Regions from separate parts of the Homo sapiens genome. Here region 2 is linked to region 1. The links are contacts of gene promoters, found by promoter capture Hi-C in blood cells and fetal thymus (Javierre and others, 2016). All regions are on one chromosome and are shown on one strand. The core of a region is centred on a gene start or on the middle of the fragment in contact, and the rest is flanking DNA. Distances in the headings are between cores, read along the strand shown. Region 1 holds the start of PRKAR2B (protein kinase cAMP-dependent type II regulatory subunit beta). Region 2 has its middle 81 kb from the start of PIK3CG.

Evidence for each region. The method cuts DNA at HindIII sites, captures the fragments that hold promoters and counts their contacts. A CHiCAGO score of 5 or more calls a contact.
Region 2: a fragment that was not itself captured here is called in contact with the fragment with the promoter of PRKAR2B in region 1 in 2 of 17 cell types (megakaryocytes and erythroblasts); the score reaches 15.0 in megakaryocytes.

The regions. Positions count from the first base shown.
Region 1 is chr7:107,042,222-107,047,060 of GRCh38, reverse strand. It overlaps PRKAR2B (protein kinase cAMP-dependent type II regulatory subunit beta), which reads right to left and starts at 2,356. Exons shown (of 11, transcript NM_002736.3): 1 at 1,847-2,356. The coding sequence starts at 2,153. RefSeq lists silencers at 1,963-2,257, 2,044-2,603. The HindIII fragment of the contact is 4,109 bases long and covers 1,078-4,839 here.
Region 2 is chr7:106,943,454-106,948,292 of GRCh38, reverse strand. No RefSeq gene overlaps it. Among named protein-coding and RNA genes, the nearest start is that of PIK3CG, 81 kb to the right of the region's middle. The HindIII fragment of the contact is 658 bases long and covers 1,628-2,285 here.

The sequences.
Region 1 (4,839 bases), core at 1,107-3,606:
GCAAAGGTGCCTTGGAGAATATAAAGCCATATAAAATGACCCCTGCTGTTCAGAAGTTAACGGCTTATTTCTTCACTACAAAATGAAAATGGAATCTTTTCTGTGCGCAATATATTGTTATAAGGAGAAAATGCAATCATCAATGCAAAGTACTTCAACAAATGCATTATACAAACAAAATATTTTGATTATATTAACAACATATCATACAGAATATATATATATATATGGTCTTTACCAAGCCCCTTAGTTCCTAGTTTTCTCCAACCTGGGAAAAGAGTCCTTTTTTTCCCCTTTGTGTGTGTGCACGAACATGTCAGGAGCATAAAAGAAGTATTAGATATCTCTGCCCTTTCTGTCATCCGTTACTGGCTGCTGCTTCTTACCTATTTAAAACATGCATTCTTTTCTCTTTCTCGTTTCTGGTAGGAAAAGCTTTTGATTCGATTCTTGTGCAAAAAGAATTATTAAGACTATGTTTATCCTCTTGGGGAAACATTTAGAAGTCCAAAATTAAAATTGTAAGTAACAAGCTTCACTTTTATCTTCACAGCGCACTAATTTCCAGGGTTTCTGGGATTCTTTTGGAGAAACTAAAAATACACTAATTTTATAATCCATTTCAACATGTAATCCTGCAAAGAAAAGAAACATCTTCCTAGGAGCATACACAAGGAAATGAAATGACACTTTTAAATGTTTTCATTTTATGAAATACACTGCGGACACACAAACCACAAGCAGTGTAAATAAATAAAAGCTGGTGCAATGCTGCATGCATGTTTGCCTTACACCACAAAGAGAAAACACTTGCACACTGCACTCCATGGTATTTTAGCTTGGGTTGCCATAAAAATGAGATTTGGGCATGTTGTGTAATACAAGGGGCTGTAAATGAGGGTGTGTGTCTGGGTGTGTTAGGGAAAGAGGGTTGTAAGCAGAAGGGGTGGGACTTGCCAGGAGCAGCTATTTGAGAAAATTCCTTTTTCTTTCCCATTCATTCTTTCTAGCTCTACTGTCTGGCACAATCCTTACAATTACTCACTGGCTTTTCATTCTAAAGACAACCAACAAGCTTTCAGAACTTCCTACAGTGTTTTTCTCATACACTTTTAAAAAAATAAAGCACCAAATCATTCAATATGTCTTTTATATAAAAAGCAAACCATTAACCCATTTCCTCGTTCCAAAGACCCCCGTGGGTTTCAGACTAAATAGAATCCTTTGTTACGTGTCCAAAAATAACACAACACGGTATTGGTAAATTGGAAAATAATAGATAACTCTTATTTCCAAGAATGTCAGAGCTACTGGCCATAAATTTTGTTCTGCCCCAGTGAGTCCAATTTCATGCTTCTTTTAGCGAATCTACCGTCCTAACAACAGTAAAGCCAATCATATTAAACACGGTTCTCCTTTTCTCTTTCGACATTCCATTAATAAATACAAGGGCTGAAAGAAGACGCCAAGCGGGCCAGTTTCTTTATGCACAATGGTATCCTCTAAGCGAAATACCTCCAACCACAGCGAAAGTTGTCTTTCTAGCAGATGCCCACCCCAACCGGCCCAGGCAGAGGGGGCAAAGGGTAAGAGGGAAGCGTAACATCCCAGCTCTCCCACCTCTAGAGGAAGGGAAGAGGGTATGACAGAGAGCGGAGTAGGAAGGTGGGCGAGTGGGAGAGACAGAAATGGATGCTGAGGGGGTGGGCGAGATGGGAAGGTAGGGAAAGGTGGAGAATGCGGGGAGAGGTGGGTGCGCAAAGCGGCAAGATCCGAGAGCACAGCGGGGAGCGGTGGGGGGCAGCGAGGGGATCCGGGGGCGCGAAGTGGGGGGTCTGGTCCTCACCATTGAACGCCCCTGCGTCCGCGGGCGCCGCCTCCTCCTCCTCCCCGTCCTCGGAGTCGGACTGCATGGGCTCCTCGGCGAAGTTGACCCCCTTGCTGGGGGTGCCGCCCCCGGCAGCGGCGCCCAGGTCCCCCCAGGTCCTGCCCTCATGGCCGAAGCGCGCGGTGCCTTTGCGCTCGTTCTCCTGCTGCAGGCGGGTGAAGTGCTGCAGCGCGAACTCCAGCAGGTCCGCGGGCTGGTGCCTCAGCACCTCCACCGTGAAGCCCTGCAGCAGCTCCGTCAGTCCCGCCGGGATCTCGATGCTCATCCTGCCTCCGGGGCGGCAGGCGCCTGGGCGCCGCCCTCGCCCCCTCCCCGGCACGGCCTAGGGCCCCGCGGCTGCCGAGCGAGCGCCTACGGCGCTGGCGCGCTACCGGCTGCGAGCGCGGCGCACTGGGCCCCGGCGGCCCGGCTGGCCCGGCCCGCGGCTCCCGGCGCGCGTCTGCTCCGTGTGGTGGCGGCGGCTGAGCGAGCGCGGCCCCGGGAGGGCTGGCAGCATCTCCTGCTCCTCCCGCTCCAGCCGCGGCCGCGCCTCTCCCCCGCCCGGGCGCCCCGCCCCCGCCCCGCCGCGGTGCGCGGGAGGGGGCGCAGGAGAGCGCGCCCACGTGACCCCCGGAAACCATGGCAACCTCCGCTGGCTGGCGCCGCGCACCCGCCTGTCAGACCACCGCAGGGCTGCGCGCCCGGGCCGGGAGAGGCGGAGGGAGGCCCAGCGAGGCCGCCTTCGTGTCCACCTGTCCGCGCGTCCAGGAGCGGGCTGGCCACTCGCCCCGCTTCCCAGGCGTCATTCGCCATGGTGAACCCCCGCAGAGGTGGTGCCAGGAGATTTGTCTTGAAACTTCAGCCTCCACCTTAGTAGTGGCATTTTATTTTCCTTCTAGAATCTAGTTGCATGATAAGTGTTGCTAATGTCCTTTGTTTAAAGTCTTATGGTGGTACTGGTTCTCTTTTGGACAAAGAAATGCTACCCCATCTTTGTGACGTCTTTCTTTTTCTTCCCCACATTTTATCCAGCCTTTCCCGATCCATCCTGTTTATTATGTTTCGTCTTACTGATGCTATTCCGTTGTGCACTCCACGCATTTACTATTTATTGAGACAAAGGCACCATTTATTGAGAGGCACCTATCAAAGTTAGTTGATCTCTTTTAAATAGGATAGTGCAGGATGAGGCGCTTATTATTTTGAAACTTTCCTTTATGCTTTGAATGATTTTTGACTTGTATGTCCAAAAATTGAAATACTTCAGTATAAAGAAAAATAGAATTACTAATGTGTGCTTTTAAAGTAGAAGGCTTTGACTTTGAAATGAGGCTTACTTTGCAAATGTTTACAATTTTGAAGTAGAGAAAATTGTCTTTTGTCAATTAAATTCTATTTAAGTACGCATACTTCATTTTCTACAATTATCATATCATTGTAAATAAAATATTTCAAGAGCAAGCTCACTTGGTTATTCTGATTTATCTTCCCACCCACGGAAGAGTAAACACATGACTGGGGAAACTCCAAGTCTAGAAATCAGAGATGTAACGAACTAGTCCCTCTTGTAAAAATGGATCTTGATGTTAACCCTTTGTTAATGATGCATCCTGTATTGACTCCATGAGCCAATGTATTTCTCTATTTTCATTTCTTAACAACTTTATAGTAATAATGTTACGTTGCTTTAAATATACAGTAGTTAAGTGCTTCTAATTGTGTCGAGCATTTTAAGAATTAAACTTTTGGCCGGGCGCAGTGGCTCACTCATGCCTGTAATCCCAACACTTTGAGAGGCCGAGGTGGGCGGATCACCTGAGGTCAGGAGTTCAAGACCAGCCTGGCCAACATGGTGAAACCCCATCTCTACTAAAAATACAAAAATTAGCGGGCATGGTGGCAGGCACCTGTAATCCCAGCTACTCAGGAGGCTTAGGCAGAAGAATCGCTTGAATCCAGGAGGCGGAGGTTGCAGTCAACCGAGATCGTGCAGTGCCGTTGCACTCCAGGCTGGGGGACAAGAGTGAGACTTCGTCTCAAAAAAAAAAAAAAAGAATTAAACTTTTATAAAATATGGTGAGCCTCACATGTCACCGGTTGGAGCACAATGTTAGTACTACTCTCTACCGTGTAAGCATTATTATTTTTACGGATCTGGTAATCTAAGATGCATGTGTATCACCTGTCTAAATTTGTGATAATATTTGTATTAATTATGATAAACACTGCTCACATGTGGCAGAAAATGCGAAATACAATAGCTTAAGATTTATTTCTCTGGAATCTAAATGTGGGCAGTTCAGAGTTGGTATTGAGAGGTGATAGCGTGCTGGCAGTCCTCACAGCCCGCACTCGCTCTTGGCGCCTCCTCTACCTGGGCTCCCACTTTGGCAGCGCTTGAGGAGCCCTTCAGCCTGCCGCTGCACTGTGGGAGCCCCTTTCTGGGCTGGCCAAGGCCTGAGCCAGCTCCCTCAGCTTGCGGGGAGGTGTGGAGGGAGAGGCGCGGACGGGAACTGGGGCTGCGCGTGGTGCTTGTGGGCCAGCGCGAGTTCCGGGTGGGCGTGGGCTCGGCAGACCCCGCACTCGGAGCGGCCGGCCGGACCCACCGGCCCCGGGCAGTCAGGGGCTTAGCACCTGGGCTAGCAGCTGCTGTGCTCAATTTCTCGCAGGCCTTAGCTGCCTTCCCGCGGGGCAGGGCTCGGGACCTGCAGCCCGCCATGCCTGAGCCTCCCCCCCACTCCGTGGGCTCCTGTGCGGCCCGAGCCTCCCCGACGACCGCCGCCCCCTGCTTCACGGCGCCCAGTCCCATCGACCACCCAAGGGCTGAGGAGCGCAGGCGCACAGCGCGGGACTGGCAGGCAGCTCCACCTGCAGCCCCAGTGCGGGATCCACTGGGTGAAGCCAGCTGGGCTCCTGAGTCTGGTGGGGACGTGGAGAACCTTTGTGTCTAGCTAAGGGATTGTAAATACACC
Region 2 (4,839 bases), core at 707-3,206, 98 kb after region 1:
TTGGATTTTGGGAGCAGAATAGGGAAGGGGACAGATGATAACTGTGTTCAAGGATGATGGAGGTGTTACTGGAATTCTGATGACAGTTAAGTTTATGCTGGTGCTCAAGCTTGGTCATTACCCATGAGTGGTGGCCTTTGCTTTTCTTTGGCTTTCCACAGGACAAAAGTGAAAACAACTGGGCTGCAAGAAACTTTGGGATATTTGTTTTCTCTCAAGAAAGTAATTTTGACTGTAACATAAGAAGCCACTCTGATAGGAATATCCTCCAAAAGTATTGAATTAAGTGTTAACCTGACATTTTAACACCATAAACATTTTAAACATTAGTTCTTAGTTTTTGCCTTTGCCATACTCTACATCTGAGGTCAGATACAAATGTGCTTCTGTGAAATAGTTTTCTGAAAAGTTTTTATGAATTATAACTTATATATATACATAATGTACTTTTTTCTAAAAAGATACATACAGTGGGTTCAAGACAAGGAGGAAGAATTATATCAGTGTGAAAATAGAAGCTATTTGGTCTAAGTTGGAAAACCAGCAAAGAACATTATTTCTTGCTAAAGGATTAGGAAAGACTTAAAATAGTTATCTAAATTGTCAATTCAGGAACATTTTTGTGCAATATACAAAGGGTTCATTAGCCTACTCACAATGATTTTTGACATTGCCTTTTCTTTTTGTCATCCAGACCTACTCTGATATCTTCAGGTAAAGAGATGTAAAAAAGTTCTTTGGAGAAAATCTCAATTCTCTCACAACAGATAAGAAGATACTCTCCAGAGAAAGACAGCTGAGGGTTCTTGAGCTAATGACTAAAACCCCTAAGGCCACTTCTAGTTGGTTAATTCTGACCCCTGGGGGTTGGTTTCTGCAAACGCATCTACTTCAACACTAAGGCAGGACATGCATGACTATAAACTGGCTGGCCCTGCTTTTAAAAAAGAACCTTCACTGAACTGAAGCAAGAATGTGGAGCCATTCATTACCAAATTGAAGAGAAAAAGTGGTATTAAGAGGCACTTAAATGCAAAAGTGAACTCATTTAAAAAATAAAACAAAACAAAGGACTTCATAATGTACTGGCAATAATAATTACCCAGAAAAGGATGCATTATTTACAAAATCATAAAATGTCATTGTTTGTCAATTTTCTTCATAAAGACAAAAACTGGTAAATCACAGTACTTCTGTTTTTTTCTTTCTATCTTTCTTTTTTTTTTTTTGAGACGGATTCTCGCTCTGTTGTCGAAGCTGGAGTGCAATGGTATGATCTTAGCTCACTGCGACTTCTGCCTCCCAGGTTCAAGTGATTCTCCTGCGTCAGCCTCTGGAGTAGCTGGGATTACAGGCCCTTGCCACCATGCCCAGCTAATTTTTGTATTCTTAGTAAAGATGTGGTTTCACCAGGTTGGCCAGGCTGGTCTAGAACTCCTGACCTCAGGTGATCCACCTGCCTTGGCCTCCCAAAGTGCTGGGATTATAGGTGTGAGCCACTGCACCCGGCCCTACAGTACCTCTTTCATTAAAGCATCAAATATGTGCCAGGTATGTGCAAATGTACTGTTACATGGCCCATGTAACAGGAGAGAGTAGGATGGTGCCATTTAGCTCTGGGGAAGCTTATATTGGTAATAGATGGAATTAGTAAAGGTAGGAATCTTAACTTATAATTTTATTTTAAAAAGGCACAATAAGTATGAGAATGAAAAAAGATTCAGCATATGAGACTAAGGCTGCAAGGAATTCAGTATTTTTCTCATTTGTCCTAATACCTCATGGTAGAGAATAGGCCCTCGGGGAGCTAAATCTTTAGGTTTGTGAAAGACTGAGAGTTGAATTGCTGCTAATGCCAAGTCCCCAAAATAAAATAAGAAACTAGTTAGCTGAAATTCCTGAAGGTCTTTAATATCACCACAAAATACAGATCATGTGAAAGAGAGATTTTGCTCAAGAGCATCTTCTAAAAATCCTCAAAGAATACTTTCCCCATTATTTCTACTATTCAGCCATTGATTGATAGAACTGGCTGTAGCATAGAACTGTTTCTATGCAGTGGCATTTGATGAGTAGGGTCTCATTTGTGCAAATAGGGTAGAGGTAGGGAAACTTTCTAGTCCTAATACAACTGTGGCCAAGTGGAAGGCTTTGAGTATTTCTACTAGAAAATGTTGTTTCCTGGTTTGACCCCAGAAATTAAATGGTGGGCAACCCAGTAGATCTTAATCAAAACTGTGAGGCAAAATTTGTCCTTGGTCCATTCATCAACACTCTTTCAAGCTTTTTTTTTTTTTTGAGCACGTAGGCCAGGCATGATGGCTCACGTCTGTAATCCCAGCACTTTGGGAGGCTGAGGTGGGTGGATCACTTGAGCTTAGGAGTTCAAGATCAGCCTGGACAACAGGATAAAACCCTGACTCTAGAAAAAAATACAAAAATTAGTCAGGTGTGGTAGTGCGTGCCTGTAGTCCCAGACACCCAGGAGGCTGAGGTGAGAAGATTGCTTGAGCCCAGGAGATGGAGGGTGCAGTGAGCCTGGATTGTGCCACTGCACTCCAGCCTGGGTGACAGAGTAGGGCCCTGTCTCAATAAATAAATAAATAAATAAATAAATAAATAAATAAATAAAACACTTATTATGTGTCAGGTATAGGTACTAGGGATACCTGGTCCTAAACCTAGTGAAATGAATATTCTAATGAGAGAATAAAATAATGACTACAAATTTTGATGGACATTATTTGGGAAACAGACAGGGGAAAGAAAAAAATGGGAAATATTTAAACTGGGCTTTAAAGATGAAAAGGAGCTTAAGTTGGGCAAGATCTTAGTGGGTCCAAGAATCTGAGAAAGGCTAGTTGGAGTTTTGTAAGATAGAGGAGAGAAAGTATGATGAGGCTGGAACTGGTATCTTTTTACCTACCATTTCAGTCTCGCTCTCCACCTTCCGTGACCCAAAGCACAGTGTGTTGTCAATCATTCATTTATTCTGTCAATATGTAGGCACTATTCCAGCTGCTCAGAATAGGAGAGAGAACCAAACAGACCAAATTCCTGCTCATATGGCTCTTACATTGTAGTAAACCCCAGGACGTTGATTTGATTACTGTCTTCTGTAATGCTTGATGTGAAAGCTGGATATGTGGATGGAAAGAAATAGAGGTGAAGTGGGAGTTGGGGGAAGGAGGGAAACTTGATACAGGGTGGTCTGGGAAGGCTTTATGATAAGGTGACTATTGTCAGCTTTTCAAAATAGAAAAAAAAAGATATCCCCTATGGCCAACGGGATGTTAGTTGATTGGCTTAAGATGTTGCTTGTCCTTGGAGTATTTTATTCAACACTTGACACAAAGTGCATTGGGGTAGTCCATTTGCTCCCTAGAAGTGGTTGGAATGCAGACTAGGGGTGAATATGTATGGGAATTAGAGAAAGATTCCTGGAGAAGAGAGAAACAAATAAGGTTTTGACAGAAAGACAAAGGAAAAAATAATATTCCAGGCTGAGAGAACGACTTGAACAGAAGCCTCGAGGTATTAAAGTATGCTTTTATTGTGTAAGTTTTTTGTCACTGTGGGAAGAGGGAGTGGTGCATCTTTGTCAGTTTAGCCCGAAAACACACAGCACTTCAGGTATTTCAAGAAGAGGAAATGTAACGCAGAGAATAGGGTATGTAAGTGATGGAAGGGATAAGAAGTCAAACAGAGACGGTGAGGCAGCTCAGAGTTCAGCTGTACCAGGGAGCTGCTGCTTCCTCTAGGACTGGAGGGAAAGAAGGTGGTGCTACCACAGCCCAGGATCTGGGGCCATCTTGTGGAAGTGGGAATCACAGTAGACCTTCCTTAAGGGAATGGGGTCTATGAAGGAAGAGAATGTTCCGTGGGAACTGGGAACAAGCCAGGGGAGGAGGTCAGCGTTAAAGATGCTGACCTGAAGCAGACAGTGGGGCAGGATTCCGGCCTTTCCCCGACTCCTGCCTTCCAGTCTCCTGCCGCGGCACCCACTGGCCAACGCTACTCCAAAGCTAGCAAGAGGGAAAGGGAGCTTGGGAAGTGTAGTTTCTGGGGTACAGAGCAAAGGGAGAAGGGCAGGGAGTGGATGTGAGAGCAAACAAGCAAATTACCACCAAGTGGATGAGGGGAGCAAAAGAAGGAGGGCAGGGCAGTTGAGATTCAGGAAATGAGGCTGCAAGGGAGGGGTAGATCAGAAACAAATCATGGCAGCCTTTGGTAGCTAAGGAGATTGGGCTTTATTTTTTGGCCACAGGGAGCCATAGTAGGATTTTTAAGAAGATATTAATTTTTATGAGTTTTTTAAATTATAAAAATAATATACATTCATCATAAAAACATTCTAACAGTACATAAATTTAAAGACAACAGTAAAATCAAGGTTCTCAACCTCCTTCTAGACTAACTACCTCTCCTCCCATCCCACTCTCCACAGGTTAGCAGTTTGGTACCCCCACCGACATTACTCAAGAGTATACAAACAACACATATGCACATGCTCTGCTGTGTATAATAAGACTCATTTATTATCTATATATGCATACTATGACCCCATTTATGTATTTATATATATATACAAAGTATATATAGATACACAAACAGGGTCATAGTATGCATATTTATATACATAAATACATAAATGGGTTCATATTAAACATTCCCTTCTGTAACTTTCTTTTTTCCACTAACAATACATCTTGGACATTTTCCATGTCAATACATATAAATATATGCATCTATCTTAATCTTATTAATGGCTATATAGTATTCTAGGGTATGGATTTTATTTAACTAGTGCCTTATTAAGGGGCATTTAGACTGTTTCCA